Regions from separate parts of the Homo sapiens genome. Here regions 1 and 3 are each linked to region 2. The links are contacts of gene promoters, found by promoter capture Hi-C in blood cells and fetal thymus (Javierre and others, 2016). All regions are on one chromosome and are shown on one strand. Each heading gives the region's core, a stretch centred on a gene start or on the middle of the fragment in contact. The rest is flanking DNA. Distances are from core to core; before and after follow the strand shown.

What was found. The method cuts DNA at HindIII sites, captures the fragments that hold promoters and counts their contacts. A CHiCAGO score of 5 or more calls a contact.
Region 1: a contact is called between a fragment that was not itself captured here and the fragment with the promoter of CGREF1 in region 2, in 8 of 17 cell types (M2 macrophages, M1 macrophages, megakaryocytes and 5 more). The highest score is 11.1, in M2 macrophages.
Region 3: a fragment that was not itself captured here is called in contact with the fragment with the promoter of CGREF1 in region 2 in 6 of 17 cell types (naive B cells, M1 macrophages, M2 macrophages and 3 more); the score reaches 7.2 in naive B cells.

The regions. Positions count from the first base shown.
Region 1 is chr2:27,197,853-27,201,572 of GRCh38, reverse strand. It overlaps SLC5A6 (solute carrier family 5 member 6), which reads left to right. Exons shown (of 17, transcript NM_021095.4): 15 at 120-223; 16 at 460-575; 17 at 994-1,986. The coding sequence ends at 1,137. Among named protein-coding and RNA genes, the nearest start is that of ATRAID, 12 kb to the left of the region's middle. RefSeq lists a silencer at 3,506-3,706. The HindIII fragment of the contact is 6,317 bases long and covers 1-3,720 here.
Region 2 is chr2:27,117,168-27,120,889 of GRCh38, reverse strand. It overlaps CGREF1 (cell growth regulator with EF-hand domain 1), which reads left to right and starts at 1,762. Exons shown (of 6, transcript NM_006569.6): 1 at 1,762-2,044. LOC124907744 (a long non-coding RNA gene) reads right to left here. Exons shown (of 2, transcript XR_007086252.1): 2 at 3,405-3,722. RefSeq lists enhancers at 1,829-2,329, 2,330-2,830. The HindIII fragment of the contact is 4,689 bases long and covers 1-3,533 here.
Region 3 is chr2:27,233,788-27,237,073 of GRCh38, reverse strand. CAD (carbamoyl-phosphate synthetase 2, aspartate transcarbamylase, and dihydroorotase) reads right to left here. Exons shown (of 44, transcript NM_004341.5): 21 at 3,266-3,286; 22 at 2,848-3,066; 23 at 2,389-2,556; 24 at 1,647-1,829; 25 at 1,434-1,538; 26 at 551-790; 27 at 244-325. Among named protein-coding and RNA genes, the nearest start is that of CAD, 18 kb to the right of the region's middle. The HindIII fragment of the contact is 1,738 bases long and covers 456-2,193 here.

The sequences.
Region 1 (3,720 bases), core at 296-2,795, 81 kb before region 2:
CAGGGAAATGTTGGGTATTGGGTCCCAAGACCCTGGGACCATGCGGGCAAGTAGAGATTGGTGCCCAAGGAATGCCCTGCCAACGAATTGCTAATTGTTCTCACCTCTGCTCTTCCCAGGCCCACAGGGCTGCAGCGGTTCTATTCCTTGTCTTACTTATGGTACAGTGCTCACAACTCCACCACAGTGATTGTGGTGGGCCTGATTGTCAGTCTACTCACTGGTAAGGGTGTGGGATTGCGGTGCAGATGAGCACCGAGGGGTTAACAGAGGGCCCTAAGGGACTCTAGGGAGAAAGGCTCCTGCCCTCTGAGCTCTTGGGTGTCCGTAGCTGTCAGGCTTTTCTGCTGGGATGTAGGAGGTGGGTGGGGGCTGGGGTCTCTGGGGGCCAAGGGAGGACATGGGGCCCGCTGCTGTGGATGGTTCCACCCAGAGACTCAGAAGCACATTTCCATTCAGGGAGAATGCGAGGCCGGTCCCTGAACCCTGCAACCATTTACCCAGTGTTGCCAAAGCTCCTGTCCCTCCTTCCGTTGTCCTGTCAGAAGCGGCTCCACTGCAGGAGCTACGGCCAGGTAGTACCTGCTGTCCAAGTGACCCCTCCCTGCCCTTCTCCACAGATGCCACTGACTCTTCAGGTTCCCTTCTACCCCTTTTCTCTCCCCCTGCCCCGGGTGCCTCTCTCAGGATCAGCTAAGCCTAGGCTGTCCCACACGGCTGTCTCAGGTTCTACCCACAGGACTGCACTGGCTTGGTGGGCAGAAGGATCTCAGGGCTCAGAGGAGCTCAGCCCCAGCCTGGGCCAGTCAGCTCCCCTCCCCAGCCCACCCTGTGCTCCCTGCTGTGCTATGCCCTCCCTCTTTTCCCCCTGCTCTCCCTCCCGAACCCAGCCTTGCTGGGCTCCCTTCTGGCGGGGACCTTTTTTGTGTGAATCCTGTCAAGCACCCGTCATCCGTCTTCACCAGTTCCACCCCTTTGGCTCTGTGTTTGCAGGACCACCTCGACACTGGCCTGTTTCCTGAGAAGCCGAGGAATGGTGTGCTGGGGGACAGCAGAGACAAGGAGGCCATGGCCCTGGATGGCACAGCCTATCAGGGGAGCAGCTCCACCTGCATCCTCCAGGAGACCTCCCTGTGATGTTGACTCAGGACCCCGCCTCTGTCCTCACTGTGCCAGGCCATAGCCAGAGGCCACCCTGTAGTACAGGGATGAGTCTTGGTGTGTTCTGCAGGGACAGGCCTGGATGATCTAGCTCATACCAAAGGACCTTGTTCTGAGAGGTTCTTGCCTGCAGGAGAAGCTGTCACATCTCAAGCATGTGAGGCACCGTTTTTCTCGTCGCTTGCCAATCTGTTTTTTAAAGGATCAGGCTCGTAGGGAGCAGGATCATGCCAGAAATAGGGATGGAAGTGCATCCTCTGGGAAAAAGATAATGGCTTCTGATTCAACATAGCCATAGTCCTTTGAAGTAAGTGGCTAGAAACAGCACTCTGGTTATAATTGCCCCAGGGCCTGATTCAGGACTGACTCTCCACCATAAAACTGGAAGCTGCTTCCCCTGTAGTCCCCATTTCAGTACCAGTTCTGCCAGCCACAGTGAGCCCCTATTATTACTTTCAGATTGTCTGTGACACTCAAGCCCCTCTCATTTTTATCTGTCTACCTCCATTCTGAAGAGGGAGGTTTTGGTGTCCCTGGTCCTCTGGGAATAGAAGATCCATTTGTCTTTGTGTAGAGCAAGCACGTTTTCCACCTCACTGTCTCCATCCTCCACCTCTGAGATGGACACTTAAGAGACGGGGCAAATGTGGATCCAAGAAACCAGGGCCATGACCGGGTCCACTGTGGAGCAGCCATCTATCTACCTGACTCCTGAGCCAGGCTGCCGTGGTGTCATTTCTGTCATCCGTGCTCTGTTTCCTTTTGGAGTTTCTTCTCCACATTATCTTTGTTCCTGGGGAATAAAAACTACCATTGGACCTAGAATTTGGGCTCCTGTACTGTCTTCACCTGCTCTTGTCCACCCTACTGCATCCTCTGGTGAGGATAAGGAGTCCTATCCTATGTACAGGTCACCTTCCTGTGCTGAGGAGGGGGGCTGTGGCTTCAAGTCCCTGCTGTCCCTGTGTCTGCAGGGGACAGTGTTGTGCTCACCATGGTAGAAGATGCACACCCTCTCCTAGGGCTTCTCATCCCCTGGGGCTTACTTAGTCTGTCCCTTCTCCGGCCCCACTTTCCCTTTGCCAGAACCTTTTGCTCTCAGATTTTTACTTTTGGAACTGGAGGAAGAATGTTCCCATCTGATTTTAGAAACGGAACATTCTAGCTGGACTTTTATGGTCTTGTGAAGAACACTGTGCTCACACCCTCCCACACCTGGCCTCTGCCCCTGCCTGGCCCTGTTCAGCTGCCCACATCAGCTCTGCACCAGCTCTCCGGGGTCTCTTAACAGAGACCGGGTCCCAGGCATATCTGAATTCAGCCTCAACTGAGGCCTTCTCCCAGGGCTTCTAGAGCACATTCCAGCTGTTCTCTCATACTCCATGTAGCTTAGGCCTGGGATGTTCTGTGTCCCTTTTTCTACCTCTACCCCAGCTCACTCGGTCACACCCCAGCCCCTTTCACCTCTGCCCTGGCCAGCCCTGTGGAGGAACAGGGCCTGGTTGTGCCAGAGCCAAGACACTAGCTACTCCCAACCTGCCTAGGCCTCATTTATATTCATGACGACAATATTGTCTCCTAATGGGTCTTAAACCTGTTGCCCTGGATTTTTTTTTCCATTCCACAAGGCTCTGGTCTTGAACATAAACATTCCTTCCAGTATGGACTTCAGGTGTCTGGTCATGATCTATTCTCAGTCTGGGAAGGTACTTTGACAGGCCAAAGGTGTGTCCACTGAATCTACCATATTTCAGACATGCCTGAGTGGTACTCCAGGGAGAACTGGGGAGAATGATCCCCAGGGTTTAATTTGCTGAATTAGGTAGGGTGGAAGTGAGTCTATGTAAGAGGACATGGAAACATTTTACGAGGGGCCCTTGGACTCAGGCCTATTTTGTTTTGTCCTGTGAATTAAAACTTCAATGATGGGAAGATAAGAAGCCTATAATTATTATTTAGAAAAGATTCCTTTGGGAGACCGAGGCAAGACGGTTGCTTGAGGCCAGGAGTTCCAGACCAGACTGGGCAACATAACCAGATCCTGTCTCTACAAACACAAACTAGCCAGCATGGTGGCATGAGCCTGTAGTTCCAGCCACTTGGGAGGCTGAGGTGGGAGGATTGCTTGAGCCCAGGAGGCTGAGGTTGCAGTGAGCCAAGATTGTACCACTGCACTCCAGCCTGGGCAACAGAGCAAGACCTTGTCTCTAAAAGAAAACAGAACACAACAAAATCCCTTTTCCTTCATAGATTGTTTTTGGGGAATGTAATCGAATCTATCATGCCAGACTCCCAAATTCAAGCCTTATTTGTTTCCTGGTTCAGGTGTCCTGGTAGAGCTGCTTCTAGGACAAGGTCTTACCAATGGAGGCAATAGAAACTGAGAATGTCTGTAAAAACTAGAAGTGGACGATTTATATCTCAAGCCCTACAAGAAGGAGAGACTGGTGATTGTCACCAAGAACTGTTGAGGGAATGGGATCATCTCTGGATTCTTAGGGCCTGATCTCTGAACCCATTTTCTGGCCAAGCCAGTGTCTGTAGGAGAGTTGAGAGCAG
Region 2 (3,722 bases), core at 513-3,012:
CATTAATCCCTTCATGAGGGGAGAGCCCTCATGGTTTCATCATGTCCCAAAAGGCCCTACTCCTTTTTGGTTTTTTTCAGAGGCAGGATGTCGCTCTGTCACCAAGGTTGGAGTGCAGTGGCAGGATCACAGCTCACTGTAACCTCAAATTCCTGGACTCAAGGGATCTGCCTGCCTCAGCCTCCCAAATAGCTGGGACTACAGGCGTGCACCACCATGCCTAATTTTTATTTATTTATTTATTGTAGAGACACGGTCTCACTATGTTGCCCAGACTGGTCGAAAACTCCTGGCCTCAAGAGATCCTCACACTTCGGCCTCCCAAAGTGCTGGGATTACAGGTGTGAGCCACTGTGCCTGGCTTCCTCCTCTTAATATCACCACAATGGGGACTAAGTTTCAGCACATGAATTTGGTGGGATATTCAGGCCATAGCAATGTTCTTCCTATGTGTGTGTCTGTGTCCACATTTCCTCTTTTGATATGAACACCAGTCATATTGATTAGGGGCCCACCCTACTCCAGTATGACCTCATCTTAATGGATTACATCTGCAATGACCCTATTTCCAAATAAGGTCACAGTCTGAGGTATTGGAGGTTAAGACTTCAACATATAACTTTGTGAAGGACACGAGTCAATGCATAACAGTGATGGGAGCTAGGTGAGCAGATGAGCACATGAGCAGATGGAAAGTGAGGAGAGGGCCCTGAGGAACTCTGACGGTGAAGAAAATGGAGACCTTTTTGAAATGACCAGAGGTAGGAGAGGTATTGCCGAAACCAGCAGAATCCGTGATCTAAAAAGGCAGTGACAAGCAGTGTTCATCACTGGGAGGAGGACAGGATGAGAGTGGGCTTGTCGCTGTGATGACAGTGTCGCTGTGATGGAGTGTCACAAACAACTCAGGAAGAGTTCACCCTGACACCCCAATACATATGCCTCTAACACTCTGCACCGCCACACCCCTGGGCAGTCAGTCACACATTGGCCATACCCTGAAGCCCACACTATCATTTATTTTTTATTTATTTATTTATTTATTGAGACGGAGTCTCAGTCTTGCTTTGTCACCCAGGCTGGAGTGCAGTGGCGTGATCTCGGCTCACTGCAAGCTCCACCACCCAGGTTCATGCCATCCTCCTGCCTCAGCCTCCCGAGTAGCTGACACTACAGGCGCCCGTCACCATGCCCGGCTAATGTTTTTGTATTTTCAGTAGAGACGGGGTTTCACTGTGTTAACCAGGATGGTCTCCATCTCCTGACCTCGTGATCCACCCGCCTTGGCCTCCCAAAGTGGTGGGATTACAGGTGTGAGCCACCACGCCCGGCCCCTGAAGCCCACACTATCACACGGATGCACAGTCACACAAAATACCCCCTACCGTGTCACAAATTCCTCATACACAGAGCCACACATGCCAGTCACAACCGCACATGCTAACAGTAAGTTAGGTTCCATTTTGTCACATACATCTGGGTCCCTCAGGCAGAGAAAGTGGCAACCAAAGCATGAGCACAGTTAAACATACTTCTGATGCACACTGGCCTCACTGTCTCTTGGTCTCTCTGTACTCACATGTGTGCATACAGGCACACGCACACATCCGCGCACACATGCACGCTCACACACGTGCATCCTTACACATGCTCACACTCACGCTCACAATGTCACACGCATGTGCACACCCGCACAAGCACACGAGCGCACTCACGAGCACACGCGGACTCGCACACGCGCACATGCGCACTCACGCACGCACACACGCGCACACTCACACGGGCGCGCGCAGCCCCTCCGGCCGCGGGCGCAGCGGGGGCGCTGGTGGAGCTGCGAAGGGCCAGGTCCGGCGGGCGGGGCGGCGGCTGGCACTGGCTCCGGACTCTGCCCGGCCAGGGCGGCGGCTCCAGCCGGGAGGGCGACGTGGAGCGGCCACGTGGAGCGGCCCGGGGGAGGCTGGCGGCGGGAGGCGAGGCGCGGGCGGCGCAGCAGCCAGGAGCGCCCACGGAGCTGGACCCCCAGAGCCGCGCGGCGCCGCAGCAGGTGGGTGACACCCCGCCCCGGCCGGCCGGAGACCCGAGCCCATCGCCGTCAGCCAGCCAGGGCCGCGCGGGGTAGGTGGCCTCCAGCCTCTGGTCCAGATCCCGAGAGCGCAGTCCCTCTGCATCCCCTGCGGCTCAGACGCGGCGGGAGCAGTGGCCCTTGCCCCTGTGTACCCTGAGGGCAGGTGGAGGAAGGGACTGGAGAGCGAGCCTGAGGCTCCTTGGTGTGAATTTGGGGCTTCGCAGTTCCCCAGGCGCTTCCCCCAGCCCCGCATTCCGTGTTCCAGCAGTCCTGGGGGAGGGGCAGCTGGCGGGAGCTTTCCCCCTCATCCGACGGGGAAGAAATGGAGCGCTGGGGAGGGCCCGAGGCTGTCGTCCGCTTGCAGGTGGCCGAGGGACCAGCTCCCGGGTGTGGGCTCCTCTAGCCCTGTAGCCGCTGTCTCCTTTCTTGGGGGATGGGTGCTGGGAGGCACAAGGGCACCAGAGGGATAAATTAAGAATTAAGGGAGAGGATTCTACTCAAAATTTTAGCTTCCCAACAGTTCGACTCTACAGGAGATGGAACTGCCGGCCTGTGAGGTGCTAGGTTCCTGTCCTGGAATGATTCAAGCAGAGGCCATTTGACAGGGTTGCTGAGGAAGAAATTTTTGCTTTGGATGGGAAGTTACCCAGGATAACCCTGCAAGGCCCCTGCCACAGCCCAGAGGCTCTGAAATACCCAAGCAGCACCTGCTTGGTGCCAGGCACCTACCCTAAGTTTTCTCATTGCAGCCTCCCCAAACCTTTAGGAGACAGATACCGTTATCCTCATTTTTAAAATGCAGATCCCGACCAGGAGCAGTGGCTCACGCCTGTAATCCCAGCACTTTGGGAGGCCGAGACGGGCGGAACACGAAGTCAGGAAATCGATACCATCCTGGTTAACACGGTGAAACCCCGTCTCTGCTAAAAATACAAAAAAAATTTAGCCAGGCGTGGTGGCAGGCGCCTGTAGTCCCAGATACTCGGGAGGCTGAGGCAGGAGAATGGAGAATGGCGTGAACCCGGGAGGCGGAGCTTGCTGTGAGCCGAGATCGTGCCATTGCACTCCAGCCTGGGCGACAGAGCGAGACTCCGCCTCAAAAAAAAAAAAAAAAAAAAATTCAGATCCCAGGGCTCAGAGAGGTTAAGACACCTGCCTAGGTCCCACAGTGAGTAGTATCAGAGGCAGGATTTGATCAGAAGTCTAACCTGTAGAGCGTGCTCTCCTCCCATGCACTGGTGCAAAGGCTTGAAGAACACTGGGGCCGGAGGGTCATTGTGAATGTGTGAGTGCACGTGTGTGACATAACTTTATTAAATTACATGGCAACTGTTAACAGTTATGGTGGCTTTCATGTGTTTATTAGGGTAATTATGTTCATGCACATTATAGTTATAGAAAATGGTTAGGGACATTTTTATTGGACAGGCAGTGGTTCAATAACTATTTTATTTCTCTCACAAAAGCTTTTGTTAATGTTTAGAAATGTCTAAGTGTCAACACATCGCACTAACCTCATTACACATTACATGAGGTGTCTTAGCCTTTCCTTAAACCACTGAGGTGGGTTACTTGCACTAAAATGTCACAGTTGGAAGCATTACTTAGAATATTGGCCAGGTGCAGTGGCTCATGCCTGTAATCCCAGCACTTTGGG
Region 3 (3,286 bases), core at 75-2,574, 120 kb before region 2:
CTCCAACCTGGGCGATGGAGTAAGACTCTGTCTCAAAAAAAAAAAAAAAAAAAAAATTCCTCAGACAAGGCCACTGTGGACACTGTGGATTAAGGAATGAAAGAGTGAGAAACATTCTGGGGTCTTCACAGTCTGTGCAGTCCAGGACAAAGAGTGGGCCCCCCAGCCATCCTTCACCACACTGCAGGTCTCTATGCCAGGGGCTGCCAGTGTTCAGAAGCCAAGTTCTCCCCAAAGACTTACCCGGCAGTCGCACAAGCTTTTGGGAGGTCATACAGTCAACATGCACCTTCAAAGGAGGGGCTGGCCCGATCTGGCCTAGGGCCTGCAAGTGGAAAGCAGTCAGCTTTAAGGGAAGGGTGATCCTGGGAGTTGTAGGGAGAGATGTGGTTTTCCCATAAACCAGGCTCTGCACACTCTATACCCACCATCTCTCCCTCTGTAGCCACAAAGCTTTATTACTAGCATGGCTGTTCCATACTCACTCCTCCCTCTTTCTTCTTCCCATCAACACTGGCAGTCTCCCTCCCAGCACATGGGTCTCAGTTACCTCCACAAAGAGTTTGGTGCACTTGATATCGATGATTAGGGGCACGGAGAAGTCAGCGGCCAAGCGTCGGGTGCGGTAGCCCTTGGTGACAAAGGAAGAGAGACGCCGGCCCCCAGCTCCACGCATTGACAGGTTAATCACCAGCTCAAAGTTTTTCTCAGCTAGCTGCTCCAGGATGCTCCGCTGTGGTGGGCACTCACCATCCACAGCCTCCTCAAAGTGCCAGTCCACAGCTGTTACCTGCCAACCCGGAGTCAAGGTCAGGGCCAAGCTGTCTGGCAGCGGTCAGGAAGGCTAGCCTTAAGGGAGAGGAGCTGGCCCAGGAGCCCATGATGAGGAGACTGAGGACCCATAGGGTGGGCACTGAGGGCTGCCTCTATTTGATACTGGCAAAGTGTATTTCTTGGCAGGAAAGATATCTACACTAAGTAAGATGGGTTACCAAGGACTAGGTGCAGTATGAGCTCACACACATGTACACAGAGAAAATCCTGGAAGGAAAAATATCAGAACAGTGGTACAGAGATTTTAAGAGACTTTTCTCTTTGCTTCCTGTGTATTCTGCTTTCTGCATGGAATATAGCTTACTAGTATAATGGTAATAATAAAAGCAGGGGAATAGGAGATAATTCTTTGTTTTTTTTTTTTTTGAGACAGCATCTCACTGTTTCCCAAGCTGGAGTGCAGTGGTGCACTCACTGCACACTCGCAGCTCACTGCAGCCTCTACCTCCTGGGCTCAAGAGATTCTCCTGCCTTAGCCTCCTGAGTATCTGGGACTACAGGTATATGCCACCGTGCCCAGCCCAGATAATTCTTTGGTGCAGTATTTTCACCCCCTTGGGGAAGGGCAGCAGTGGGGTAGGTTGCCAGAGTTCCTGCACCTTGACGCCATGCTCAGTGTAGAAGTCAGCTGTGCCGAGACTGGCATAGAGGCTGTAGCCCAGGCTCTCCAGTAGCCGCACAGTTGGGAGCAGCTCGCTTTTGTTCTGAAACCAAACAGAAGGATGAAATTGTTTTCTTCCTGTCTTCCATTTCAAGGTCAGCCCTGGCCCAGGGAGCCACGGCCCTCGGGAAGCCCTCCTGGATTCTGATACCTTATAGCTGCCAATGGTCAGCAGGATATTCTTCTTGGGGATCTTAAAGCCAGTGCTTAGCATGGCCTTGAGGTATGCCTCACAGCGGCTCTCCCCAAAGCCGGCCACCTCCCCAGTACTGGTCATTTCCACACCCAACACCACGTCAGCACCCGCCAAGCGGGAGAAGGAGAACTGAGGCACCTAAAGGGGCGGGAGGGAAGAGAGAGGGCCAAGGTGTGAGAGGACCTCCTCCCTCACCAGCAGAGACGGACACAGTACCCTGTGCTTGATCCCATCTGAATGGCAGGGTCAGCCTGCCCTCTCTGTGTGCCCTCCTGCTTTCCAAACGTACTTGGGGTCATCCCTCAGCTTCTGCTTAGGATGTGCCCTTGCAAATAAAAAACCTTAACCATCCTTCAAAACTCAATTCAAATAGCACCCCTTCGCTCAAGCCTTCCCAGATCACCCCTTTTGGAAGCAGCACCTCCTGTCTCTTGAACTCCTGCAGCATTCTGTTTACAGGTCGAATATGTAGTTTTACCACGGACTGTTCTATACCAAAGCTTTTTTGGGGATCCAACTTCTCTTCCCTCCCATTACCATAAAGTAAGCTCTTAAGGGACAATGACCACCTCATTACCCCCACGATCCGGCAATGCCTTGCAGTCAGTGCCTGGTTTACATACTGACAACTCTGTGTGGTGAGTGAACTCTCTCCCGCTATTTTTCTGCTAACCCCAAGGGTTTCGATATTCCTTACCTTTACTCCCACGACTCCAGAACCAGTCATTAGCCCCACAGGTTCCACTTCTTCCCCCATGATGACCCGCGTGGCCAAGGCTACTAGGTCCACACCCAGTGTCTTGGAAACGAAGGGGAAGGAGCGAGAGACACGTACGTTGCATTCAATAACTTTCAGCTGGTCATCCTGGGGCAGAGAAGACTGGTCAGGCCTTCTGCAGGTTGGCCTTGCTGACACTATCTATAGGCCTAGACTCTTCCTCTCCGTCCTCAGCTCTGGGGGATCAGACTGAGCAGGGTTCAGGGTCACTGACTGTCATAAGCCCCAACACCATGAGCTCTAGCTACAGCCCTTTCCCTCCAGCTTCCCTGCCTACTTGGATGAAGGCAGGAGACAGTGCAGGGCTTCATGGCACTGTGGCCAGCACAGAACATGCAAGAGCTGTGGCCCTTTAGTTCTTTCCTTTAGCCTTATTACCTTGGCAATGAGCTGCAGATTGAAGGGTCCTGTGACCTGTAGCTCCTGGCCCACAGCATGCACAATGGCTTTGATCCGCTCCAGGGTTTTGGCAGTGATATCTTGTGGGGGGGTCACCAGCGTCGCATCACCTGAATGCACACCTGCATTCTCCACATGCTCAGAGATGGCGATGGCTGCCACCACACCATCAGAGGCCACGGCATCCACGTCAATCTCCTAGCGGGGGGACACAGACAGTGGGACATAGGGCCACTTTCTTCTCTCACTTACTCTAGGATTGTCTCTTCCTTTAACGAGCCCCACATAGCCCACTGTTCCCAGCCCTGGTGCCTATGATTCTGCTGGACCAGAGAAGGAAGTCTCCTCCAGGGCTGGCAGCATGCCCTCAGAGACTTCACTGTCTGCAGCCTCCCACCTTAGCCTCCTGGATGAACTT